Linked DNA regions of Homo sapiens: region 2 is linked to region 1. The links are contacts of gene promoters, found by promoter capture Hi-C in blood cells and fetal thymus (Javierre and others, 2016). All regions are on one chromosome and are shown on one strand. The core of a region is centred on a gene start or on the middle of the fragment in contact, and the rest is flanking DNA. Distances in the headings are between cores, read along the strand shown. Region 1 holds the start of LINC00158 (long intergenic non-protein coding RNA 158). Region 2 overlaps APP (amyloid beta precursor protein).

Region 1 (5,801 bases), core at 3,225-5,724:
CCCCATTTAATACTTCCATTGAAAATTTCCTATTCATTTCTTAACCAGAGTTACGGAGAAACACATTAAATTATATTAAGTTCAAGTGCCAAGTAATTAACAAAAAAAAAAATTTGTTTAGTATGTCTGTTTTATATGACCCTCAATATTTAATCATTTAAATCTCACTTCTAATTATGTCTATTAATATTATTAAACAAACTTTAGCCTGACAATAAATACAAATTCCCAAGTAAGTATTAGACCACTCTAGGGTATAATAGTATTTCTAATCTGATGTTTACCTATGTTTTGTTTTTCATCTACAACACTGACTTTTTTTTTAAGTGGACACAGTAGTTGATTGTGAAGTATTTGAATGTCACACAAGAAATATAAATGTGGGTGCTGACCTCAAAGCACACAGAAGCTAGGGATGATAGGGTTTTCACATAGTTTAAGGCAGATTCTAATCTGAATGGTACAGCCAAAAAATAATTTTTTTAAGGGTAGAAGTCTTTGTTGACTGAAAAATAGTTAAGCTCAAAAAAAGGGTGAAAGTCGACCTTATCTACTGAAGACAATGAGACAATGACAGGAATTCTAGGGGTCCCATATTTGCAGATACGGAGGTTGGGTACGAGTTAAAAGGTCACAACACAGATGTAGATGTGATGCTTTTCATCATCAAAAGCATGGTAAAAACTCTAAGTAGATAAAACTCTGTGAAGGGATTGGTGTAAAAAGGAGAAGAGAAAGCTAAGGACCAATCCTTGAGACACTCCAATGACTGTGATGTAGGAGGGAAAAGCGGGACCCGTGAAGAAAAGATTGAAGATGTTGTGGTGACACATAATAGAAGAGCAAGAAGTTTTTCAAAGACGAGGTTCTCAAGAAAATCACATGCAGCTGAATGACCCAAGAGGTGGAAGATTTTAAAAGGCCATTTATTTTCACTAGCAATATGTCACCAATGAGCCATTTCAGGAGTCTATGTTCCAGTAGGCTAAGATTCAATTTCAAAGTTTACAAATAAAATGAAATGAAAAAAATGAGAGTAAGCATAGACTACTCATTATAAGAGTTGATCATGAAAAGAAATAAATTTTAAGTTTATTAAATAGGTATCAATATCCAAAGAAAAACGTTGATTTCTTTAAGGCAAGTGATCCCTGGGCATGACTGGTAACAAGAAAGAATTTAAAAAGGAAAGACTGAGGACCCTAAGAAGAGTGGAGTGTGGCAAGGTGTGGGAGCAATGTCTGAAAAGCCACAATCAAGGATGTGTCCCAAAGCAGAGAAGAAAGGTTGACTTTTAAAATTAGAATAAAAGTAATACTGGTTAACATTTATTGAGCAGTGATTATTTGCACAGAACTGTTTAAATGCTGAATGTACATTATCTCCTTAACTACTTATGAAAACCTTACAAGGTAGATATCATCATTCCCACTTCCCCTACAAAGAAAGTGAAACCAAAATAAATTAATTCCCCATGATGTCCTAGAAAGTGTGAGGTGGTGTCCAAACACAGACCTATCTGACTCAAGCTCATGCACTGAAAATTTCTGTTTCTGATTCATTGCTCAGTGTCACAAGGTGTAAGAACACAATTCTAACTTTGTTTGAGTGGTAGAAGTTATGTTCTTAAAGCTAATATACTAACATATAATTTGAACACTCACAGCTTCTGAAACTGAAAATACACATTCTTCATCCAATGTTTGCTGTATAGTGTATGCTCAGAGGGGACTCTGAAAGTGGAAAGGGATAAATTCTTACTCCTAGGGCAATTCCTTCTAATGAGGAGAAATCCCTTGATTTCCTTGGGTGGGGTACACAAACAGAGAAAGATATTAAATAAGGCTTATTTTTATAATTTTATTTCAAGGAGAAAAAAAAATCTCTTCTACTATGCCACCTCTTTTGTGAATATTGGAGTGGTGTATAAACCCTGAACTTACGCCTCTCTCCTGAGCCAACTCTAACCACACTAAGCCCTATCACCATGAGGAGGTGATAGGGCTTTTTTAAATAACTTTTTGAGAAACAAAAGTTATTAAACTGAAGAGAAATGTTATCTCAATCATCATTCTGGTGCTAAATCCAAAAGATTCTTTTCAGACTTTTTCACTTCTCTGTAGAATATGAAGCTGCTCCTCATCCCTTCTAGTCGTTCTCACCTCCCTTTGTTTTATTGACTATAGTCATTTAATAAATCTACATGCTTTTCACATACTTTTCACAGGCTCCTCTCCTCTACCCACCCTCTAAATGTTGGAGCTTCTTTGCTCATCTTCTCCTTTCTGTTTCTTCACACTGTCCCTAAAAGGTCTCTTCCTCTCTACTGACTTGAACTACCACCTCTATGCTGATGAGTTCCAGAAGCATATCTTTAGCTTGGACCTCTCTGCAGAGCTCCAGATACATATGTACTATCCTAAACCTCCCTCTCTGGGTGTCCTGTAGAGGTACCCCATCATTTTCACAATAAACTGTTCCTCCTGTATAGCCATTCGTTTGATCAAACACTCAGTCGAGACAGAAAATTAGTTATTACCTTTGAGGGTGTTTTCTTCTTTATTCATCTCCTCTTCACATTCAATTCAACCAGTAAATTCAGTAAATTCTGTTCTAAGTATTCCTCAAATCTTCTCTTCCTCTTCATCCTAATGATCACTGTCTTATTTCAGGAGTCATCTTTTCTTGCATGGACCAGTTTTTAACAGAAAACTCTGGTGTCCCTGCCTCCAGTCTTGGTCACTTCCAAATCTGATCTGCACATGGCCTCCAAAGTGATATTTCTAAAATTCAGATTTAATCATATTACTCGTATTCATAAAATCATCAACATCTTCCCATTGATTTATAGAAAAATTCAATCTGTTAAGGGTGCTATAAATGATGCCATACAAGGCTCCTACCCTTTACTCTCATCCTCAATCACTCCCGTATTTTCACTCTAGGTCCCAACTTTACAAAAATGATGTGTTGTTTCCAGAATGTGCACACTCCCTGCCCAATGACTGAAATATGGCTGCCCTCCATCACTGTGGGTTGCCTGTTACTCCCCCACCACAATTACCTTCTCCAGAATGCCTTGTCTCATCCTGTCAACCCAGCTTATGTGCCTTCTCTATAGCCTCTTAGAGTCTATACTTTCTTTCATTGTAACCTGCTCGGTTTATTACTAACAGGTTTACCAGTATCATTAGAATCTCAGTCACTTAAAGGTAAATAATGGTATCTGGAAGCAGTAGAATATATTAATTAAGAGAAGCAGATTTGGAACAAAATAAACTTGGATTTGACTCCCGAAACATCCACTTACTTAATAATTGTTTATGTGCAGAGGGGGCCAGGTAGGTTCATGTCTCTGAACTCTAGCCTCTGTATCTATAAAATATACCCGATCATACCTTCTTCTGAGTGTTTTTTTTTTTTTAGGATTAAAATGAAATAGTACATAGTAAGACCTTGACATAGTACTTGAAGCATGTTAAAATGATATTGTCTTATCCCATTTTGCCCAACATGTAGCCACCTAGCTACTACATCGTAAGTATTTAGAAAGTACATACATTTGTTACCAGTGCCCCATGATAGCAGTGCCTGATGAAGTCATAATGCAATGGAGAGCAAATAGAACAAGTGGAGTCTTCTGAATCCTAATGCACTTTACTGATTCTAGAAAGAATAAATGAGAGGCTATGCAAAATCTCAAGCTCAGCTAAGGAATATATTTTGTTGAAGGTTTGTGCTTCCATTTTATGGTGATTGGAAAGGGACTGAGCTAGAAAGAAACTGAGCTAGAAAGGAGCTCAGTTCCTCTCCAATCATCACAAAAATTTACATTCCATAGTATGCAACATCTTGTCAGGAAAAACAAATATAATCCTTCACATGCAATCTTTGCTCACAATTATGAGATACTGTCTTTATGGGTCTAAATCAGAAATACTGTCTTCTTACAGACTCTTGATGTGATCTGTGCTCATCCTTAATCCTTGGTAAAGTTCCAAAATGGCTCTGGATCCTACTGACATCTGTTACTAAGGATAATGCATGAAGGAGATGAAGATATCTGTTCTCAATAAACAGAGAAAACATTACTAAAGAAAATGTAGATCAATTTCAGATCTCCTTATCCATAGATAAGGAAATGCAAGTTATTAGAGACCTATGAAAAATTGCTGTTCAGACATAAAGATGCATCTTTTTATTTCAGATCTTTACCACTTAAGTTTAGCCTAGTATTTTTTAAGGCCAATGAAACAGTTGGTGAAAAAGAATAAATGCATTTGTGATCTCCAGTGTGTTCTCTCCATTCTAGCAAAAAAAAAAAAATTCCAAAAACACTTGTTCATACAGCTACAAGTTTGAGGCTTTTCATAGGAAATAAGATTTGAGGTCTAGACTAATTGATTTTATAGCTTCACAACTGAATTTTGTAATGTAGCCACAGGTCCATACACAGCAGAAGCTTAGATTAATCCTTTCCAAAAATAAAAGGAAAAAATCCATGTGAATCACTTCTAAATGCCTCTGTATTGCAAATGAATGATGTTTGGGTGTGCATTTATACTACTTGTCTAAGATAAGACCTATTTAACAAGATATAGTTTATACCTCATTAAAGCAACATCTACTTCTCTTGCTTGGTTACTGGTCTTTCACAGCCAGTCCAATTGGCCAATATAAAATACACTTCCATTCTGAAACCTAAGTTCCACAAGAGAAAGAACATTTTTCTTTTTAAGTAGATGTATTTCATTATCTTTAAGAGTTTATATTATATACATGACATTACCCCCATTTAATTTTTGTGCTGGTCAGGGATTATTCAGTGATGAAAAAAGTTTTCCCAAATGAGGGCAAATAAAAACATTTTTGCTGGAAGACTATAAAGGACAACTTCATAGACATTCAAAAGTGAAAAATAAAATACACCCAGACCTCTTATAAATATATTGGGAACTGGAAAATCAGAAACTGAGATCATCTCTCTTAATTCACATGATTTCTCATCTCCTTCTCACTAGTACACTTTACCTCCTGATTTCTGGTCCAATCCATTGAACCCATTTTTTTCACTCAATGTGAGTAAATGTCATATAAAAGGTTGCAGGAAGATGCTGCTTCAGGCCATTTTCTCTAAAAGAGACTTGTAAGTACAGAGGTCATTGAAGTTTCATGAACTTCTTTATCCTTTTTGATCAAGTAGCAGATTACCTCTAACTAGTCCACAGCTTCCACATGGAAGATGGACAAACATATAGAAATGGGGAAGAAAGAAGAACCAACACACTTGTCAGCAAATTCAACCTAAGTCAGCCTCTTTTCAATGGGCTCATGGGAAATGAAGCATTTCCTGGGACACAGAGGAGGGAGAGAAAAATCTCCCATTATTGGGGATTGAACCATAAGAAAATGTTGTTTCATGGCCCCAAATGGCCAAATACCAACATATTATGTGATCCAACTAAATCACAATGGTATAATCAAACAAGTTATTCTGATTATTACCAATAGAGACACTAAAATTTTGGCTGTGTATTAAACCCTCTTGCTTTTCACATCTTCTCAATGTATTTATTTTATAGCACATCTGGAACAATCCTTTTATTTATTAATGAAGATCGTCTCAATTGCCAAAGTCTATATTTTTCTTCCACTTAATGAAAAATATCCAAAGTTGCTGGTTATGGGCCCATCAGAGATTATTTTCTCTTAATCATATTTCATTTAAAAAAAACTAGTCAGTTCATTTTTCTAAAAAAAAAATGCATGTTCAGAAAAAAATACAATCACTGAAAGCCCAA
Region 2 (6,602 bases), core at 1,835-4,334, 720 kb after region 1:
TATTTATACATAAAATTATAGAATTGAAATTATTTCAAAATAACCCAGTGAGGGAAAAGAGAATTGAGCAGGTTGAGAAAGGGGAATACAGATAAAACAAGACTGGGTGAGAGCTGATCATTGCTGAGCATTCAGCGCACTATTCTCTCTTGTGTATGTTTAATTCTTTTCATAATAAGTTTTCAAAAATGTTCATTTTTCTCTGAAGATGTTCATATTTAGTATTTCTTACTGATTTGTAAGAACACTTCATGGAATAAAAAAGTTTGCCTTTTGTTGCTGACAAACTGTACTGGGTACATAATACTAGGTAATCCAGTATTGGTACTGGGTAAATAATTACCCACCTTCCTTCTATGTACAGTCAGATAACCCAACACCATTAACTAAATAATCCATCTTTCCCCTTTCTGATGTAAAAAGACACTTTTATCTTGCACTAATTTCCAATATATGCACAACTTTATTTCTAGACTTCCAGTTTGCCCCATTGACCTATCTATGCATGGGATGTGCAGTTTTAATTTCTATATCTTTACATTTTGCTTCTGGTTTTTTATTGGCTATTCTTACCTAATGGTTTTTCCCAGATGACTTTTATAATAATTGTATTAATTTTCCTAAGTATCTACTACACTTATAAACACCCCTCCCTGCAGAACTCCTTCCCAAAGACAGAGAGCCTGCTTTTCTCTTTCACACTGGTATGTTTTTATGTTTCCACCTAGGGTCTCATCTGTTGCATGCAAGCTCAGAATTCACTTGACATGCTGATAGCATATAATGTTAAAGAATTCTTCTCTCAGTGTAAAAAATATTTAGCTACTGTGGAAGGTCAAACTGCTAAAACCGACTGGTGTAACATTTGAATGCTGCCCTTTATATAAGCTTTATTTTTATAAATAAGCATCTGACTAGAAAGTCAGTAAAAGAGCATGATATAATCAGTCTGAAGCCCAGTGTTTTAAATATAATACACTAATTTTAGACCCAAGTATTTTAGTTTTGCTTTATTGTCTACAGTTTCTTAAGAAGATGTAACTTAAAAGAAAAAAAAAATCTTTTAAATGGCTCAATCAATTTATTAGAAATAAGCGGCAAAGAGCATCTGTTCCCACAGAGCAACTGTTAAGTTAATCCCCATTAAGTCGGCCTCAAAGCACTTGGATGCAGCTACAGGATGTGGGTGTGATAGGATCACACAGGCGAACACCTGATAGGGCCTTACACACACCGGGCTAATCAGAACATCAAAAAAAAAACCTGAAGTCTCTTGGAAGGACTGAAAAATCCAATCCCTCCCCAACCCCCCCAAAAAAACCTCCCAAAACAGACTATTCCATTCAATTCAGATTTTGTGAATTAATGAAATTTAAGAGCCACCTGAAACCACCAAAGATACACAGTGATTTTCTCCCGAATCTAAGGTCCAAATGACACAGGTAGAAAAATGCACTGATAAAATGTTAACAAAAATGCATGTCTAATACTTAGAGCTACGTGTGAGCAGGTTTTAGGAGAAGGATATTGATTCTCCCTGAGGCATGAGCATTACCCACCATTTCAGGAAGCCTCTGCAAGTGGAGAAGCCACAAACCCCTTCAAAAAGATCTCTCAATTACCCACTTCCCAGTCCCCTCTGATATGTGGTAAACAATTATTTCAATGAGGTTGGCAGAGATTTTTCAAAGCTAGCAGGCAGGCATTTTGCAGCTACCTCCAGCTGGTCCAAGCAGCCAAGGCTGTCACCAGTGCCTGGTCACCGCTGAAAACACAAGGAGGGGCAGGACTAGGGCAGGAGAGTAGATGGAGAGAGCTGTGTCCCGAACCAACATTCTTGAGATTCCTTTGCTAGTGTTTTTTCTTCAGGGTTCACTGAGAAGAGGAAGGTCAGATGGGGAGGGACAAAACCCAAGGAAATGAGGCTCATTTCAAACTCTAACAACTTGATCACAAACAAAATGTATGTAGAATTACAAATAAGTTATTCTGTTTTCAGGCATCAAAAATGTTATCAATGAAATGTTGAGATGCTAAAGCAGTGAAATGTGAAACGAAGCAGTGTCACAGGCAACTGGGCCTCTCCCCTGGCCCATCCCAGGAGGGATGAAGGGTGGCTGATATGAACTCTAAGGATTATTCTGAAGGGGCCAACAAATGTTACAAAGAGGCTCAAAAATAAAAATCAGAACCATTTTTCCCTCATTCATCCAGGGCCTACTCCTGGCCATGTTCTGTGCTTTGCACTTTATTCAATTTAATTCAATTTTTCTCCTAAGCAATCTATTTAGATACTTTGTAGATGTGGAAATTGGTTTAGGGAAGCTTACATCATTTTCTTGCAGTCATATTTCTAGTAAATTGAAAGAGTTGTGACTCAGATCCAAGGTCTGAATGACTCCAACATCCACACTCAGAACTTCCTTCACTTGGGATTGAGAAAAAGGGAAATAATGGAATTGGGAGGGGGAGAGAAGACACCAAGTAGAGATATCAGCATTCAGAACTTCCTGCAGGAGAGGGTGAAAGAAGCTGGCAGCCAGGAACTGAGGGCCTTACTGATTACTTTAGTATCTTACCAATCAATTGCATTCCAAGGCTTGCTTACTTAGGAGGCTGACTGCTTAGTCCAAGAAGAAACACTGGCTGAACTCTTTGACTTATTTTGCTGGAGGCAGAGAAGATAAGTGGTTAAGAGTAAAGACAATGAAAACATAGTTTAAACCCAGTCCACTGGCCAGCTCCCTCCCAGCTGGGGATAACAGTAGGTACCTCACAGGCTGCTGAAAAGAAAAAATTAAGTGAAAGCACTTTTCAACAAGGCCTGGTTCATAGAATGAGCTACATACAGTACCTGGTAATTAGTATTACTATTGCCACAACCAAGGAGGCCTCTCAGCAAACTATTTTTACATATGCCAGAAATACAGTTATTTTTTCCAGACTAATAAATCACAAACAATATGGCACGGTTGACCGCCAGGTTACTGATGCAATTTCTTTTCACTGGAACCAAAAAACAAAACCACCACCAAATCTGAACTAAGTATAATACAATAATTCTCCCTGTCTTAAATTTTAAAATACAGAAGAAAAGATGAATTGCTGTATACTCTAAACGCTCTTTTAAATGTTTGGAGTACAGAATGTCTTTCATGAAATCATCTTGATTAAAATGTACATTCTTTTCCAAGAAGGGAGTAAACTGAGTATGGAAGACCCTCACCATTAGTTTTTATAAATGATTGATCAATGGGAATCGTCACTGAAAAATTGCATACAATTTTTGGAATGAATGCAAATTGATGGAATGTTTGTAAGCTCATGTGCTTCTTCCAACACCCCAGCATGCTCCCACCTCACAGCCTTTACACTGTATTGTTCTCTCCAGGTTTAATACTTGTAGAAAAGGGGAAAAAAACCTTTTTTCTCTACCCTGTTAGGTTCAGCACATGAGGCCTTGCCAATTAAACTGACGAGACAGATTCGCAGGGGAAAAAACACAAATTTTATTTAATGTTATTATTTTTACATGAGGGAGGGGAGAGGAGGGAGCTCCACAGAAAAGCAAAAACCCAAAAGAAGCAGTTAGGCCTGAGAGCATACACACCATTTTAACAAAGAGCAATAAACTGTGGAGAAGTCACAAGACAAAGGAGAGGGGATTAGGGCTTCCAGGGGAAGTGTGGTAAGGTAAATATATGGGGGAAACTAATAGAAGATAAGGGTTATTTCAATAAGGTTTGTTTCTGCAGGCGATGGTGCCACCTCTAGTGGTCTCTCCAGGGATGGAGAGGGGAAGGAGGATACCTTCACACAGCAAAATTTTTATAAAAAGGGGGTAAAGCTTGTCCTGGGTCTGCTATTTCTCGATTGTCTTCAGCTCAAATTAGTACTTTGCTGAAATGGCATATTTGGGGGTAGCATATTCTGATCCCCTTCATACCCTTCCAGACTGTGTCTCTATCCAGCTCCTCACTGGCTTAATTTTTCTTCATAGCACTGACCACCAAGTGGCACAGAGTATACTGATTGACATCTAGATAGACAGATAGATAGACAGATAGATAGACAGACAGACAGACAGATTGACTGATTTGCTCTCTGCCCCACCCAACAAAGTACAAGCTCTGTGAGATCAGGAAGCTGGCCTCTTTCATGGTTGTATCCCAATGCTTGGCATAGTGTTGGTGTTCAATTAATGCACCAAATAAATGAACGGATTTCCATATTATATCAATATTTTCTTACAATTAGAATTTCTGTGATGTTGATAGTGTAAGAATTTGTTTTTATTAGTTTTCAACAGTATCAACATTTACTCATTATGTAGTTACAGTATTGTATTTTTTTAAAGTAAACAATAAACAACACTGTCTTTGCTCCAAATACCTATAATGTGAAATATATAAAACTGGCCGACTGACCACAGAAACGGCAGTTAATAATCAAAATTACATGTGTCTGGCTGAATGGACTCCACGACCTTACACTAGGTTCTGTAACAGCAGCATTTCATCACAATTTGTTAAATTTGAAGATAAATACCGTCTCTTTTCTGGTCAAAGATTCTTATATCTTTGGAAACTTGACAGAATTAATGTTTTTGACTTGTTTTTCACCACATAACATCAGGAGAGACTTTAACAGCAGTGAAGTGGCAAGGAGGACGCTTTATTTATATCCGTGTAATCATGTAACCCACTTCATGCTCCCACTGAATGGCTCCAGTAAACTGAAATCACAATTTCACTAATATCTACATTCCAGCTCCAGCTACATTTGCCTGTCAAATGCAACAACTTACAGTTAAGCTTCTGCCTACACGAGCAATCACAGAACCATTAAATAAGAGGATTGCTTGTTTGAACTACTAGATCAGCCTTTCCTTATTTTTGCTAATCTGTGTGGTGTACGTTCATTACCTTTTTTTTTTATGTTAAAGACCACCATGCGTAACACTACTTGACAGCAGCAATTTATAGCAGTGGTCCCCAGCCTTTCTGGCACCAGGGAATGGTTTGATGAAAGACAATTTTGTGGTTTGGTTTCGGGATGAAACTGCTCCACCTCAGATCATCAGGCATTAGATTCTAATAAGGAGTGTGCAACGCAGCTCTCACTTTCTTACATGCGGTTCACAATAGGGTTTGCGCTCCTATGAGCATCTAATGCCCTGCTGATGTGACAAGAGGCAGGGCTCAGGCAGCAACACTCACTCACCCATTGCTCACCTACTGCTGTGCAGCAAAGCTCCTAACACGCCACAGACCGGTACCAGTCCATGGCCCAGGGGTTAGGGACTCCTGATTCACAGCATTACAATAAATAATAAATAATTAAAATATTACCTGATATTTGGCAAACAATCCCTCTCTAAGTCACTACTTCCAGCCTATGTTCAGGCTAGAAATGCCAAATAAAAAAGCACATGTCTGTCTGGGCACGGTGGCTCACGCCTGTAATCCCAGCACTTTGGGAGGCCGAGGCGGGGGGATCACGAGGTCAGGAGATCAAGACCATCCTGGCCAACATGGTGAAACCCTATCTCTACTAAAAATACAAAACAAAAACAAAATTAGCCGGGCGTGGTGGCGGGCGCCCGTAGTCCCAGCTACTCGGGAGGCTGAGGCGGGAGAATGGCGTGAACCCGGGAGGCGGAGCTTGCAGTGAGCCGAGATCGCGCCACTGCACTCCAGTCTGGGCGACAGAGCAAGACTCCATCTCAAAAAAAAAAAAAAAAAAAAAAATGGGCCAAGGATCTGAATAGACATTTCTAAAAAGCAAATGTACAAACAAACAAAACAAAACAAAACAAAAGCACAAGTCCACAACTACATAGCTCCAGTTTCCCTAAACAGATTTACCCATTCAGTAAACATTACATGTACAAAGAACTTAAAATAGTATGAGATTTAATGTTAAGAAATAAAATGTAGGATCTAAAACGTAATCTATAGCATAATCTCAAAAATGGTTTAGAAATGACATAATAATACAGACATTTGTGGGTGGTAGGATTATGCATATTTTTATATATTTTTAAATATATTTTTCAAAAGCTTCCTATAAAGAATGTAATTCTTTCCCAATTCCAAATCTAGCTTAAACATAATTTTACAAAAATTATTCTCTCAGAATGTAAACTAGTACCACCTCTATGGAAAACATTATGGAGATTTCCTAAAGAGTTAAAAGTAGATCTACCATTTGATCCAGCAATCTTAATACTGGGTATCTACCCGGAGGAAAAGAAGTCATTGTATGAAAAAGACACTTGTACACATATGTTTACAGGACCACAATTCACAAATGCAAAGATGCAGAACCAACCTAAGTGGCCACTGACTAATGAGAGGATAAAGAAGATGTGGCATATATATATCAGGGACTACTACTCAGCCATTACAAGGAACAAAATAATGTCTTTTGCAACAACTTGGATAGAGCTGGAGGCCATTATTCTAAGTAAAGTAATTCAGGAATTGGAAAACCAAAAACCGTATGTTCTCTCTTATAAGTGGGAACTAAGTTAGGAATAAGCAAAGGCACACAGAGGGACATATTGGACTTTAGAGACTCACGAGGAGGAGGGTAATAGG

What was found. The method cuts DNA at HindIII sites, captures the fragments that hold promoters and counts their contacts. A CHiCAGO score of 5 or more calls a contact.
Region 2: a fragment that was not itself captured here is called in contact with the fragment with the promoter of LINC00158 in region 1 in 1 of 17 cell types (M0 macrophages); the score reaches 5.4 in M0 macrophages.

The regions. Positions count from the first base shown.
Region 1 is chr21:25,427,227-25,433,027 of GRCh38, forward strand. LINC00158 (long intergenic non-protein coding RNA 158) reads right to left here and starts at 4,475. Exons shown (of 5, transcript NR_024027.2): 1 at 3,952-4,475; 2 at 2,540-2,783. The HindIII fragment of the contact is 1,417 bases long and covers 4,461-5,801 here.
Region 2 is chr21:26,146,558-26,153,159 of GRCh38, forward strand. The region is part of intron 1 of APP (amyloid beta precursor protein); the gene reads right to left. LOC124900466 (a long non-coding RNA gene) reads right to left here. Exons shown (of 2, transcript XR_007067829.1): 1 at 2,580-6,602. Among named protein-coding and RNA genes, the nearest start is that of APP, 21 kb to the right of the region's middle. RefSeq lists an enhancer at 2,379-2,948. The HindIII fragment of the contact is 1,522 bases long and covers 2,324-3,845 here.